Linked DNA regions of Homo sapiens: regions 2, 3, 4 and 5 are each linked to region 1. Evidence: promoter capture Hi-C in 16 types of primary human blood cells and fetal thymus (Javierre and others, 2016). All regions are on one chromosome and are shown on one strand. Each heading gives the region's core, a stretch centred on a gene start or on the middle of the fragment in contact. The rest is flanking DNA. Distances are from core to core; before and after follow the strand shown. Region 1 holds the start of GP6 (glycoprotein VI platelet). Region 2 holds the start of KIR3DL3 (killer cell immunoglobulin like receptor, three Ig domains and long cytoplasmic tail 3). Region 3 overlaps LILRB4 (leukocyte immunoglobulin like receptor B4). Region 4 holds the start of LILRA2 (leukocyte immunoglobulin like receptor A2). Region 5 has its middle 3.5 kb from the start of MIR8061.

Evidence for each region. The method cuts DNA at HindIII sites, captures the fragments that hold promoters and counts their contacts. A CHiCAGO score of 5 or more calls a contact.
Region 2: a contact is called between the fragment with the promoter of KIR3DL3 here and the fragment with the promoter of GP6 in region 1, in 4 of 17 cell types (M1 macrophages, monocytes, M0 macrophages and 1 more). The highest score is 6.7, in M1 macrophages.
Region 3: a contact is called between a fragment that was not itself captured here and the fragment with the promoter of GP6 in region 1, in 1 of 17 cell types (M2 macrophages). The highest score is 6.5, in M2 macrophages.
Region 4: a contact is called between the fragment with the promoter of LILRA2 here and the fragment with the promoter of GP6 in region 1, in 4 of 17 cell types (monocytes, total B cells, erythroblasts and 1 more). The highest score is 11.9, in monocytes.
Region 5: a contact is called between a fragment that was not itself captured here and the fragment with the promoter of GP6 in region 1, in 1 of 17 cell types (M1 macrophages). The highest score is 5.8, in M1 macrophages.

What each region holds. Positions count from the first base shown.
Region 1 is chr19:55,036,874-55,039,573 of GRCh38, forward strand. It overlaps GP6 (glycoprotein VI platelet), which reads right to left and starts at 1,391. Exons shown (of 8, transcript NM_016363.5): 1 at 1,330-1,391. The coding sequence starts at 1,363. All of the region lies in intron 2 of GP6-AS1 (GP6 antisense RNA 1), which reads left to right. It also overlaps a transcript of RDH13 not described here. The HindIII fragment of the contact is 26,016 bases long and covers 1-2,700 here.
Region 2 is chr19:54,722,999-54,725,698 of GRCh38, forward strand. It overlaps KIR3DL3 (killer cell immunoglobulin like receptor, three Ig domains and long cytoplasmic tail 3), which reads left to right and starts at 1,444. Exons shown (of 8, transcript NM_153443.5): 1 at 1,444-1,532; 2 at 2,249-2,284. The coding sequence starts at 1,499. The HindIII fragment of the contact is 6,556 bases long and covers 1-2,437 here.
Region 3 is chr19:54,664,543-54,667,242 of GRCh38, forward strand. LILRB4 (leukocyte immunoglobulin like receptor B4) reads left to right here. Exons shown (of 12, transcript NM_001278426.4): 5 at 257-307; 6 at 588-638; 7 at 1,273-1,389; 8 at 1,698-1,773; 9 at 1,857-1,894; 10 at 2,155-2,207. Among named protein-coding and RNA genes, the nearest start is that of LILRB4, 2.9 kb to the left of the region's middle. The HindIII fragment of the contact is 6,500 bases long and covers 1-2,700 here.
Region 4 is chr19:54,572,451-54,575,150 of GRCh38, forward strand. LILRA2 (leukocyte immunoglobulin like receptor A2) reads left to right here and starts at 1,340. Exons shown (of 8, transcript NM_001130917.3): 1 at 1,340-1,462; 2 at 1,626-1,661; 3 at 1,851-2,132; 4 at 2,281-2,583. The coding sequence starts at 1,429. LOC107985347 (a long non-coding RNA gene) reads right to left here and starts at 378. Exons shown (of 2, transcript XR_002958419.2): 1 at 286-378. The HindIII fragment of the contact is 11,294 bases long and covers 1-2,700 here.
Region 5 is chr19:54,647,500-54,650,199 of GRCh38, forward strand. It overlaps the pseudogene VN1R105P. Among named protein-coding and RNA genes, the nearest start is that of MIR8061, 3.5 kb to the left of the region's middle. The HindIII fragment of the contact is 1,235 bases long and covers 747-1,981 here.

The DNA of each region.
Region 1 (2,700 bases), core at 141-2,640:
GGTGGCAGATGCCTGTAATCCCAACTATTCGGGAGGCTGAGGCAGGAGAATCACTTGGACCCGGGAGGCAGAGTTTGCAGTGAGCTGAGATCATGCCATTGCATTCCAGCCTGAGCGACCGACTGAGCGAGACTCCATCTCAAAAAACAAACAAAAAGAAAAAAAGAATACATCCATGGATGGATAATGAATGAGAGGTTGTTTATATTCACAGTTAACCCTCTCATCTCCAGTAATGCAACCATCTTCTTCCTGCTTAGCCTTTTGGAGATGCTGTCCCTTTAGTGGTCAAATTCTGAAGAAATCAGGAAATAATGCATTCGACATGCCCAGCACAAGTGAAGATCAGGCAGCAGAAATGCATTCGACCTGCCACCCATCCATCAGGAGACTATTTACTCCACTACTGTAGGGGATACTGACAAATTAAATCCATACCTAGTCCAGATATCAATTCCACAATTTTTTTTTTTTTTTTTTTGAGACGGAGTTTCGCTCTTGTTGCCCAGGCCAGAGTGCAATGGTGTGATCTTGGCTCACCGCAACCTCCACCTCCCAGGTTCAAGCGATTCTCCTGCCTTAGCCTCCAGAGTAGCTGGGATTACAGGCATGTGCCACCACACCCGGCTAATTTTGTATTTTTAGTAGAGATGGGGTTTCTCCATGTTGGTCAGGCTGGTCTCAAACTCCCGACCTCAGATGGCCCACCCGCCTCGGCCTCCCAAAGTGTGTAAGCCATGGCACTCAGCCTTTTTTTTTTTTTTTTTTTTTTTTTTTGAGATGGAGGCTCTCTCTGTTGCCCAGGCTGGAGTGCAATGCCTGACCTCAGCTCACTGCAACTTCTGCCTCCCAGTTTCAAGCAATTCTCCCACCTCAGCCTCCCACGTAGCTGGGATTACAAGCACCCGCCATCACGCCCGGCTAATTTTTGTAGAGATGGGGTTTCACCATGTTGACCAGGCTGGTCTTGAACTCCTGACCTCAGGTGATCCACCCACCTCGGCCTCCCAAGGTTGAGATTACAGGCGTGAGCCACTGTGCCTGGCCCACATTTTTTAAAAAAGGGGCAACTGCAGTGTAGTAGAACAAAGTTGTGACCAATGCTAGGATACTCTGTTCATTTCCTGACCCAGCCATGAATACACTGGAATAACTCATGCAAAATGCCAGCTCGCTGGCCCCCCGTTTCCCCACCCAACAAATGAAGGGGCTCTTACAGGTTCCTTTTTGTCCTGAAATTCATCACCAATGCAAATTTCTTAAAAATCCTTTGTCTGGCAGTCCATGCCTGTCCTTCAGCATTTCCCAGATCTGACCCTCAGGACTCACCAAGACAGAAGAGGGCGGTCGGGGATGGAGACATGGTTCCTCAGCCCTGTCCTGAGCTCTGTGGCCAGGGAGGGAAGTGGTGGGAGCCTGGGGCACAGGCTCAGGATGTGATGAGGATGAAGAATGCTCTCCTCCCTTCCTCCACCAGCCCCGGCCTTTCCTAATTGAGACTCATCGAGCCGTAGCCGGCTCCTCAGTACAGTGACTTGCACACAAGCTCCAAGGAGCCGCGCTTATCTCCTCTGGCCAGCCTGGCGTTGCACCGTTTGTCCGCCTGCTGGGGCCTGGTCTGTGTTCCCGTGCTCCCATAAACTCCCTGATGTCACTAGGAAAATACGCATCAAAACCACAGTGAGATATGACTTCACACCTTCTGGAATGGCTGTATTTTTTTTTTTTCTTTTGAGACAAAGTCTCGTTCTTTTTGCCCAGGTTGGAGTGCAGTGGCGCCATCTCGGCCCACTACAACCTCCACCTCCCAGGTTCAAGCGATTCTCCTGCCTCAGCCTCCCAAGTGGCTGGGATTATAGGTATGTACCACACCAGGCTAATTTTTGTATTTTTAGTAGAGATGGGGTTTCACTGTGTTGGCCAGGCTGGTCTTGAACTCCTGACCTCAGTTGATCCACCTGCCTCGGTCTCCCAAAGTGCTGGGATTACAGGCATGAGCCACTGCACCCGACCGGCTATAATTTTTTTTAATGGAAAACAGCAGATATTGGTGAGTATGCAGAGAAATTGAACTGCGCGTGCATTGCTGGCAGGGACGTAACATGGCGCCCCTGCTGTGGAAAACAGTTCCAGCAGCTCCTCCAGAAGTTAAACGTGGGATTGCCATAAAATCCAGCAATTCCACTTCGGGGTACACACCTAAAAGAACTGAAAACAGGGTCTCTAACATATTTGTACACAGTGTTCATAGCAGCTTTATTCACAATAGCCAAAAGGTGAAACCACCCACATGTCCATCAACAACAATGGATAAACAACATGTGGTATATACACACAAGGTAATATCAACCAGCCTTAACTAAAAGAATAAAAATCAGCCAGGCACAGTGGCTCACGCCTGTAATCCCAGCACTTTGGGAGGCCGAGGCGGGCGGATCACCTGAGGTCAGGAGTCCGAGACCAGCCTGGTTAACATGGTGAAACCCCATCTCTACTAAAAATACAAAAATTAGCTGGGCGTTAAATTAGCCGGGCATGGTGGCAGGTGCCTGTAATCCCAGCTACTTGGGAGACGGAGGCATGAGAATCGCTTGAACCTGGGAGGCAGAGATTGCGGTAAGCCGAGATCGCACCACTGCACTCCAGCCTGGGCGGCAGAGTGAGACTGTCTCAAAAATAAAAATAAGGCCGGGCGTGGTG
Region 2 (2,700 bases), core at 194-2,693, 310 kb before region 1:
ACAGATAGAACAGTGTTAAAGGAAAATAAGCCTCAAATGTCTGTGTTAGAAAAGAAGGAAGAGCTGAGTAAATAGGTAACTTTCGCTTGCAGAAATACTACACATCAGCAAATTAATTCCAAAGTAACGTCGAGGAAAAACATAAAATGGCAAGCAAATATATACGTGCATATGTACGTATATTCATAAATGACAAACAGGACAGAAAAATCAGTGACATCAATTTTGTTCCTTAGAAGAAACAGGAAAATTGACCCCAAAAAACTTTCCAGGCCACATTTGGTCATGATGGAAATATTTTGGCACTTCCTGGTTAAGCTCAACACCAACTTGCACCCAAAACCAATAATTTCATTCCTAGGTAAATATGTCTAATTAATTCAGCATATGTATGCAAGGGATCACACAGAAACACGATTATCAAGGCCCGAGTTATAAAAGAGAAAATCCGGAAACAACACAAATGTCCATGATAAAAAGAGTGGATAATTACATGTTGATAAAGTTATGTATGGACTATTAAACTGCAATCCAAAAGAATAAAATAGAACTATAAAATTCAATATGTATATGGTGTCATAGAAACACAAATGTGAGAAAAAGAAAGAAAAATACAAAATTTATATTTTTTAAAATTTGAAACAACTATATATGTGAGTGCTTAGGGTGTGTGTGTGTGTGTGTGTGTATAACCATATGTATATAAACGCACACATACGCACACATATAGAATGTCCCGGCCAGGCATGGTGGCTCACACCTGTAATCTCAGCACTTTGGGAGGCTGAAGTAGACAGATCACTTGAGGTTAGGAGTTCAAGACCAGCCTGGCCAACATGGAGAAACCTCCTCTCTACTAAAAGTACAAAAATTAGGTGGGCGTGATGGTGGGTGCCTGTAAATCCAGCTACTTAGGAGGCTGAGGCACGAGAATTGCGTGAACCTGGGAGGTGGAGGCTGCAATGAGCCGAGGTCTCACCACTGCATTCCAAACTGGGTGACGAAGTGAGATTGCGTCTCAAAAAAAAAAAAAGTTCTAAAAGTTGTGACTTGGGTGTGGCAGATTGTGACATACTGCCAGCTGCTAGAAATGCTGGGGCAGGAGGATTGCTTGAACTCTGAAGTCAAAGAACAGCCTGGGGAAAATAGCACATGAAGAAGAGTTTGAATCTCAGATAAAAACAACAAAAATACATCAAAAGTCTTTAATGTAAGCCAAGCATTCAGTCATCTCCTGTATGAGAGATTGGATCTGAGACGTGTTTTGAGTTGGTTATAGTGAAGGATGCAAGGTGTCAATTCTAGTTGGAACAATTTCCAGGAAGCCATGTTCCGCTCTTGACCAAACAGCCACTGGGCCTCATGCAAGGTAGAAATAGCCTGCATACGTCATCCTCCCATGATGTGGTCAGCATGTAAACTGCATGAGCCCCTCACAACATCCTGTGTGCTGCTGAACTGAGCTGGGGCGCAGCCGCCTGTCTGCACCGGCAGCACCATGTCGCTCATGGTCGTCAGCATGGCGTGTGTTGGTGAGTCCTGGAAGGGAATCGAGGGAGGGAGCGCTGGGGTGGAGATCTGGGCCTGGAGTGGAGATCTGGGCCTGGAGTGGAGATATGGGCCTGGAGTGGAGATATAGGCCTGGAGTGGAGATATGGGCCTGGGGTGGAGATATGGGCCTGGAGTGGAGATATGGGCCTGGAACTGTAGATATGGGCCTGAAGTAGAGATATGGGCCTGGAGTAGAGATATGGGCCTGGAACTGTAGATATGGGCCTGGAGTGGAGATATTGGCTTGGAGTGCAGATATGGACCTGGAATTGAGATACGGGCCTGGAGGTGGAGATATGGGCCTAGAGTGGAGATATGGGCCTGGAGGTGGAGATATGGGCCTGGAACTGTAGATATGGGCCTGGAGTAGAGATACGGGCCTGGAGTGGAGATGTTGGCTTGGAGTGCAGATATGGGCCTGGAATGGAGACACGGGCCTGGAGGTGGAGATACAGGCCTGGAGGTGGAGATATGGGCCTGGAGTGTAGATATGGGCCTGGAGTAGAGATATAGGACGGAGGTGGAGATATAGGCCTGGAGTGGAGATATGGGCCTGGAGTAGAGATATAGGACGGAGGTGGAGATATAGGCCTGGAGTGGAGATATGGGCCTAGAGGTGGAGATATGGGCCTGGAGTGGAGATATGGGCCTGGAGGTGATGTACAGATGGATCATCCATCATGATCTTTCTTTCCAGGGTTCTTCTTGCTGGAGGGGCCCTGGCCACATGTGGGTGAGTCCTTCCCCCAAACCTTAGGTTGTCATCTCCCCACATAAGATGATGCTCCTGAAACGGGAGGCAGGCGACACAGGGGGTTGACTGATGGGCTGACCATGGGAAGCCATGTGGGAATCTCTCATGAACTAGGAAAAGGAAGCCAGGGGAAGCTTCGCCACAGTTCTGTCCTAGCCCTCCCCGGCCTTTCTTTCCCTTGGCTGAGTCTGTGGGGACCCAGGGGGAGACTGAAGTGCTCAAAGGAGTGGTGTGCAGGGAGGAAGTGGTGTCACCGGCAGAGGAAGGGAGAGAAGCAGTGCAAGGAACAACAGGCCTCTGAGGACAAGAGCATAACTCACACCCTCCAGCGTTTCCATGACGGTAGGGGCTGCAATGTGGCTGCTGTCATTCTACCTAAGAGGTGGGGGAACCAC
Region 3 (2,700 bases), core at 74-2,573, 370 kb before region 1:
CAGGAGAGCTCTGGGCAGGGATGGAGGGAGAGGGGCTCAGCCAGTGGGGGACTCAGCCCTCAGAGGGGAGGAGGACAACAGGGGCCCTCCCAGGCATGCCCATGCTCTTCTCCCTCACCTAGGGTCCAGAAGGTGCCAGGTGGACAGAGAAATGGTCCTTGGGAAGCTGCAGGGCAGATATAGGGAGAGGTTCAATTTGATGTGGAGACCCAAGGGCAACCCCAGACTCTCACCCTCCTCTTGTCCTTCTACCCAGGATCCTTGGAGGGTCCCAGGCCCTCACCCACAAGGTCCGTCTCAACAGCTGGTGAGTCTCAGAGGCCTCTGTCCAGAGAGTTTCCAAAGCCCGAGGCCTGTCTCAAGACATGCTCAGTGGATCTAAGTCCTCGTTCCAATTCTCAGCTGGGCTTGCTTCCACGGGTGTGGGAGTCGGGCAGCGACTTGGGAGGCACCACAGGCTCCCAAGGCCCTGAGGCTGGGCTGGTGAGGGGTGAGGGGGTCAAGGCTGAAGGAGATGTTGCGGGGAGAAGCCGAGCTGATGTGGGGAGCAGGGCAGCCCCAGCCCTCACATCCCTGTTCTAACCCAGCAGGCCCTGAGGACCAGCCCCTCATGCCTACAGGGTCAGTCCCCCACAGTGGTGAGTGAGGGGCTCTGAGTGGGAGGTGGGCAGGGTCTAGGGGAGCCAAGGGTGGGTTCTGTCCTAGGTTAAGGCTCCTCTGGAGGTGGTGATGTGGACAGGCCCCTCCCCTGCATGGGCCTCAGTTTCTCCAAGTGTAAAGGAGAGAGGCCTGCGGGTGGGAAAGTTCCTTTCAGCTCTGACTCCCAGCTGTGCCCTCCTGGGAGAGGAGGCCTCCCAGGGAACCTCCCAGACCCGATTCCGCAGGGGCCTGTCCGGTCCCACCTGCAGCAGAGACGGTGACCTGGGGCAGGGGAGGGGAGCAGGGCGGTGGTTCAAGACAGTCAGGCTCTTTCCCTGCAACTCTGGGGCTTGGCTCTGGTGCAGGAACAAGGGCTGCAGCTCAGACTCCCGGGTTTCCTTCCCAGCTCTGCCGCTTCCTGGCTGGAGGGGTCTGGGGCAGGCGATTCCCCTCTCTGAGCCTCAGTTTGTGCATCTGTGAAATGGGTGGAGAGAGGGTGGCAATCTCAGGTTGCACAACTGCTGTGAGGGTTGGAGGTAATGAAAGAAAGACCCAGCACACACAGTAGGTGCACACACAGTAGGTGTGCACATCAATGACATCATCCCCATTCCTGATGTCATCACGCCCAAGGTCTGAGAAGGCACTGGGAGGTACTGATCGGGGTCTTGGTGGTCTCCATCCTGCTTCTCTCCCTCCTCCTCTTCCTCCTCCTCCAACACTGGCGTCAGGGAAAACACAGGACATTGGGTAAGTAGGAAATTGGGGGACCCGTGGGCTGATGGAGGGTGGGCTCAGGGCACCAGCCAAAGGGACTCCAGATAGGAGAGGTCATCTTAGAAACTCTGCTCCAGAAATTCCCAGTGAGAAAATCTAGAAAGAAGAAAATGAATGAGGGAGTAATGGAAGTGCTTTATTCTTTCGGTTTTTCTAAACTTAGAAAGTATTTAAAACATCCTTGCAAGTGTATTTTCAGGTTTCCTTTCCTCTTGACTTGCATGTGCAAGGCAGGTGGTTCTAACGTTCCCAGAGCTGAGACTCTGTCCATCTTCCCCCAGCCCAGAGACAGGCTGATTTCCAACGTCCTCCAGGGGCTGCCGAGCCAGAGCCCAAGGACGGGGGCCTACAGAGGAGGTAATTCTGCCCAAAGACCTCAGACTCCCACCCATCCCAACAGCCACCTCACTGTCCCCTTACACTCCCGTATCCTCCCCCAGGTCCAGCCCAGCTGCTGACGTCCAGGGAGAAAACTTCTGTGAGTGAGAGGCAGAGAAGGTGCACCTGGGGTGGAGCTGGGGGTCCCAAAATTTCAATAGCAATGGGGGCAGGAGCACAGGCTAGGATTGGTCAGGGACTCAGGGAGAAGTGGTCTGAACCCACATTGTGGGACCTCGGGGACATCACAGCCCCTCCCTGCGTTGCAGTGGCACTAATGGGAACAGGGCAGGGACCAGCAGGAATGAGAGGTCCCAGGGAACCTTCCCAGGAGATGAACCCCTTGCTCTACCCCAGCAGGTGCTGCCGTGAAGAACACACAGCCTGAGGACGGGGTGGAAATGGACACTCGGGTGAGAACCCGCCCCTGTCCCCGGCACCAAAGGCCTCCTGGTGCCAGATCTAATCCTGCAGGACTTCTCTGTCCTCCTTCCCCCGGCTCTCAGCATCGTCACGGTGGACCCCTCCTTGTCCAGCACGCTGCCTCCTGCCTGCTGGGACCTCACTCTCTCCTGCTGTCCTGGGACCTCATGGGCCTCCTCCCGGGTCCCCTTCCTGCTCCTCATCCTCTGTTTGGCCATCTGGTTGTTAGAGAGCTCCCCAGGCCTCAGGAGGATGACGAATAAATGAACCACTCCAGTCCCCTGGGCTCCCCTTCATTCATTCATCTAGTGAGTGTTCCCAGGGAGCTCACTGTGGATGGGGCTCCCCATGGGAGCTGCAGACACAGCAGGGAGCAAAGCCGCCCCCGCCTCCTGAGCTCACCTCGTGGTGGGAGACAAAATGCAAATAAATGCATCGTGTCCAGGAGTGCAACGTGCTGTAAGGAACATAAACCAGGTAAAG
Region 4 (2,700 bases), core at 90-2,589, 460 kb before region 1:
GGAGAATTTCATGGTATTTGGAGCCGATGTGGGCTCTTGAGTGGGGGCGTCAATCATCCTCCTGGACTGTGGAGCCCAGCACCAGGATCCTCTCCCGTCCCCACCCTCCTGTCTGAACTGGTCTGGAAATTCACCATGGCTGAGCCTCCCATGTCCTGGGCACCACTGACCCCCACAGCCACTGTGATGAGTGGGGTTCACGACAGCAGGCTCAGAGGTGACATTCATGTCCAAAGTCACATAAACCCTGGATGATAATCAGGAATTAAATACAAATCAGCTCACCTTCCCCAGAATCAGATTACAGACCTAACAAATTCTTCTGAAAACTCTGAACATGGACGGAGGTGCCGAGGGAAGGCCAAGGACGCAAGGGACACTGAGGGGGCGGGACCGACTCAGAGCCTCATTCCCGGGGTGGGGGTGGGTGATGTTGCAACAAAGAGAAAAGGGGAAGTACAGGAGAGGGACGGTTTGGTAGGAAGGAAACACACACTCTCAAGACAGAACAAATATGTTTTATTATAGTTAATCCCTGCATTTCCCCTTTTGAGACAGGGTCTCACTCTGTCACTGAGGCTGGAATGCTAAGGGGTGATCATAGCTCCCTGCAGCCTCCGCCTCCCAGGCCGAAGTATTCCTCCCACCTCAGCCTCCTGAGTAGCTGGGACTAGAGATGTGAGCTGCCATGCCTGGCTAATTTTTTGCTTTTTTTATACAGACAAGGTCTTGCTATGTGGCCCAGGGTAATCTGAAGCTCCTGGCCTCTAGCCTTCACCCACCTCAGCCTCCTGAAGTGCTGGGATTCCAGGCATGAGCCACCATGGTAGACCCTGCATTACTCCTCTGTGCTCACTGCCACACGCAGCTCAACCTGAGCTACACAGCCAGGTGTCAGGTGCGTCTCTGCTGATCTGAGTCTAACTGCAGCATGGACCTGGGTTTTCCCTGAAGCATCTCCAGGGCTGGAGGGACGACCGCCATGGTAAGGACCCCGCAACGCTGAGCTGATGGACGGGCTGAAGGAGGGAGGGAGACCCCATGGGGAAGCTCTGAGAAGGAAGAGGAAGCCTCTGCTCACCCTCATCTGGAAGGGCAGACGCAGGAGGGCACCAGTTCTATTTGCTGCTACATCCCAGGTCTCAAGGAGATGAGGATAAACCAGACAGACAGTGGCTGGGGGGCAGGAAAGACCCCATTACAGTCTGAAATGTCTGCAGAGGGCCTGGTGCCTGCCCCCACCTCAGCCCTAAAGGTATGACAGCCAGGCTCCTGAGAGGGCAGTTGCACTTCCTGTGTGGTTGCACATAACAAAACCCCATGACAAGAAGGATCCAGCCTCCGAGTGTCCACACCCTGTGCGTCTCTCTGTCCTGCCAGCACTGAGGGCTCATCCATCCGCAGAGCAGGGCAGTGGGAGGAGACGCCATGACCCCCATCCTCACGGTCCTGATCTGTCTCGGTGAGATTTGAAGAGGGAGGGGAGCTTCTAACCTAGGAGGGACCTCACCCCACAGCCAAACTCTGGTCCCTAAGGAGACCCCAGGGGCTCACAAAGATCCCAGGGAGGGGAGGACCTGCCCAGGCTTCAGGGGAAAAATCCCTCACAGGGAACTCTCTTCCAGGGCTGAGTCTGGGCCCCAGGACCCACGTGCAGGCAGGTGAGTCTGTTCCCAGCTGTCCCAGGTCCCTCCTCCTCACTAGGGACAAGGGGCCACCCCCGTGCAGCTGGGGATGGGGAATAGCAGTTCTGGGCTGACTGATGGGGGTGTCTGGAGGGTCCTGCAGCTGAGAGCTGAGATCTGTTGGGTGGGAAATGACTTAGAATCCGACCTCTGATTTCCTTCCAGGGCACCTCCCCAAGCCCACCCTCTGGGCTGAGCCAGGCTCTGTGATCATCCAGGGAAGTCCTGTGACCCTCAGGTGTCAGGGGAGCCTTCAGGCTGAGGAGTACCATCTATATAGGGAAAACAAATCAGCATCCTGGGTTAGACGGATACAAGAGCCTGGGAAGAATGGCCAGTTCCCCATCCCATCCATCACCTGGGAACACGCAGGGCGGTATCACTGTCAGTACTACAGCCACAATCACTCATCAGAGTACAGTGACCCCCTGGAGCTGGTGGTGACAGGTGAGAGGACACTCAGGAGTCCCAGCCCCAGGCTCTGCCCTCAGGAAGGGGGTCGGCTCTCAGGGGCATCTCCGCTCTCACAGCTCAACCCTGGGGATGATGTGGGAGGTGGGAGCCCCATTTAACACAGTGCCTCCTTCTCTCCTAGGAGCCTACAGCAAACCCACCCTCTCAGCTCTGCCCAGCCCTGTGGTGACCTCAGGAGGGAACGTGACCCTCCAGTGTGTCTCACAGGTGGCATTTGACGGCTTCATTCTGTGTAAGGAAGGAGAAGATGAACACCCACAACGCCTGAACTCCCATTCCCATGCCCGTGGGTGGTCCTGGGCCATCTTCTCCGTGGGCCCCGTGAGCCCGAGTCGCAGGTGGTCGTACAGGTGCTATGCTTATGACTCGAACTCTCCCTATGTGTGGTCTCTACCCAGTGATCTCCTGGAGCTCCTGGTCCCAGGTGAGAAATTCACAGAATTGCTTGGAGTTCCCTGAGTCTCCCTGAGTCTCCAGGCAGGTGGGGAGCAGCCGCGTCTCAGGGCAGCTCCAGGTGGGATGATGTTGGGGCGAGAGGGCT
Region 5 (2,700 bases), core at 114-2,613, 390 kb before region 1:
TGCTAACCACCATTCTACTCTCAGCTTCTATGAATTTCACTATTTAGATTCCACAATTATGTGAGATTATAAGATATTTATCTATTAAGAGTTGGATTCATTTCACTTAGCATAATGTCATTTGGGTCCAATCCTGCTATCACAAATGATCTGATTTTCTTCTTTTTCAAGACTGAATAAAACTTTATATTTATTATACTATGTTATCTTAATCCATTCCTCCATCAATGGGCATTTATGTCATTTATTTACCTCGGCTATTGTGAATACTGGTGCAGTGAATTCATCAGTGTGGATATATCTCTTCAAGATCTTGATTTGAGTTCTTTTGGATAATTATCCGGAAGTTGAAATCTGGTGTCTTATAGTTCAATTTTTAACATTTTGAGGAAATGTGATACCGTTTCTATAATGGATGGATCGGTTTCTGTTAACTTAAATCAGGGTATTGTCTTTCTCACTCAGACCGCTGCTGGAATCCTTGGAAATTCTTCACTCCTTTACTTTTTTAGCTTTACTTTTATCACTTCACAGATATTGAGACCCAGAGACCTGATTCTCAGCCAGCTGGTCTTAGCCAACAACCTGGTTCTTTTCTCTAAACGAATCCCCCAGACAATGGCAGCTTTTGGAATGAAATCCTTCCTGGACGAGGCTGGATGAAACTTGTCTTCTATCTATACACAGAGTGGCCAGAGGGGTTTCCCTCAGCACCGCCTGTCTCCCCAGTGGCTTCCAGGCCATGAAGCTTCAACCTCAGTATCTCTAGGAGGATGGAACTCCGAATTAGGTCCACAAAGTGCATTGTTTTCTGCTGCCCCCTCTGCTGGATCTTGCAAATTGTGGCATATACCCATATTGCAATGCATGTAACTGGCCCAATGAAGAGCAAAAACGTGAGTATGGAATAAATGTATAGGTACTCTCCTCACCCATTCTAGGATGATTGCTATTCTTAGCAAATGCAGTCATTTTCTCCCTTGTGGATGGTATGTCTTTGGCCCTCATGGACTACACCAGCAGCTCCATGATCCTCTTCTTATATAGACACAAGCAGACAGTCCAATGCATTCGCAGCCACGGCCTCTCCCCCTGAAAATCTCATGAAACTAGAGCCACACACACCATCCTCGTCCTGGTGAGCATGTTTGTCTCCTCTCATGGTCTAGCTGGTATTTTATCACTGTGGGTAACCTGGATTCAGAACCCAAGCCATTGGCTGAGAAGCATCTCTTTCCTGGTGTCTGCAGGATTCCCGACATTCAGCCCCTTTGGGTTCATTGTCAGTGATGCCCGCGTCTCACAGTTCTGCACTGTCTGCTGGACAAGGAAGACAAATGCTCCAAGTGTGGTCTCTGGGCTCTAAGTTCCCTCTAGACAATTGCGTCCTTTATTTAATCACTTCTCCCCACAATATCTGTTGGATCATACATTATGCCAGTTAATACGCAAGGACTTTGGGACTCAGTATTGAATAAAAATGATAATAACCATAGCCTCATATTGCTTCTTAGGCTCTCAAAAAATGAACGCAGTGTAAAAATTACCCAGATGTATGTCAGTTCCTCAGAAGATTAAACACAGAATTACCATATGACCCGGCAATTTCTGGGAAAATTAAAGCAAGGATTTAAAAGGATGCTCATATACTCATGTTCATAACAGCGTTATTCACATTAACAAAAAAGTAGAAAAAACCCAAAGATGGATAAATGGATAAACAAATGTTATAGAAACTAGGAAATACTGTTCAGTCTCTCAAAGAAATGAAATTGTGACTGACATACACTATAATATGGAGAGCCTTGAAGATATTATGCTAAGTGAAATAAGCCAGTCTCATAAAGGACAAATATTGCAAATATTGCTAAGATTCTATCTATATGAGCTACCTGTCAAACTCACAGACTCAGGAAGTAGAATCACGGTTAACAGAGGCTTGGGGGCCTGGAAACTGAGAGTTGGTGTTTACTGAATATAAAGCTTCAATTGGAAAGATAAAATACTTTGGGGATGGTGATGGCGATGGTTGCATAGCAATGTCAAACCACTTCACAATACTGCACTGTAGAGTTAGAAAGAGTAAATATGGTAAATTTTATTTCATTTGTTTTTTTTTTTACTATAATTTAAAATGAGAAAGAGTAGTAAAAACACACAAAAGAGAGGAGCTAACAGATAAAAAGTGCACTAAGTTAGCCAAGCCAGAGCTTTAAGAACCATTATCACTTCTCTCTCTCTTTCACCCCACAATCAACATTAATCAGGTCCAACCATGTGTTCTGCCTTCTTAGCACTGCTCACGTGTGTCCCCTCCTCTCTTATTTCCATGCACTCTGGCCCAGCTGGGCTTCTTCTCTCTTTGCCTGTGATTTGCTCTGTTGTCCTCCCTGGCTCAGACGTGCAGTCCCAGTCTCTCCTGATGCTTTGTCCCCACATTGAGGGCACTGCTGTTTCCCCACAGGCCACTCCTTTTTTTTTTTTTTTCTTGAGACAGAGTCTTACTCTGTCACCTAGGCTGGAGTGCAATGGCACGATCTCGGCTCACTGCAACCTCCACCTCCCAGGTTCAAGTGATTCTCCTGCCTCAGCCTCCTGAGTAGCTGGGATTACAGGTATACACCACCACACCCAGATAATTTTTTGTATTTTTTTTAGAGACAGGGTTTCACTGTGTTGGCCAGGCTGGTCTCGAACTCC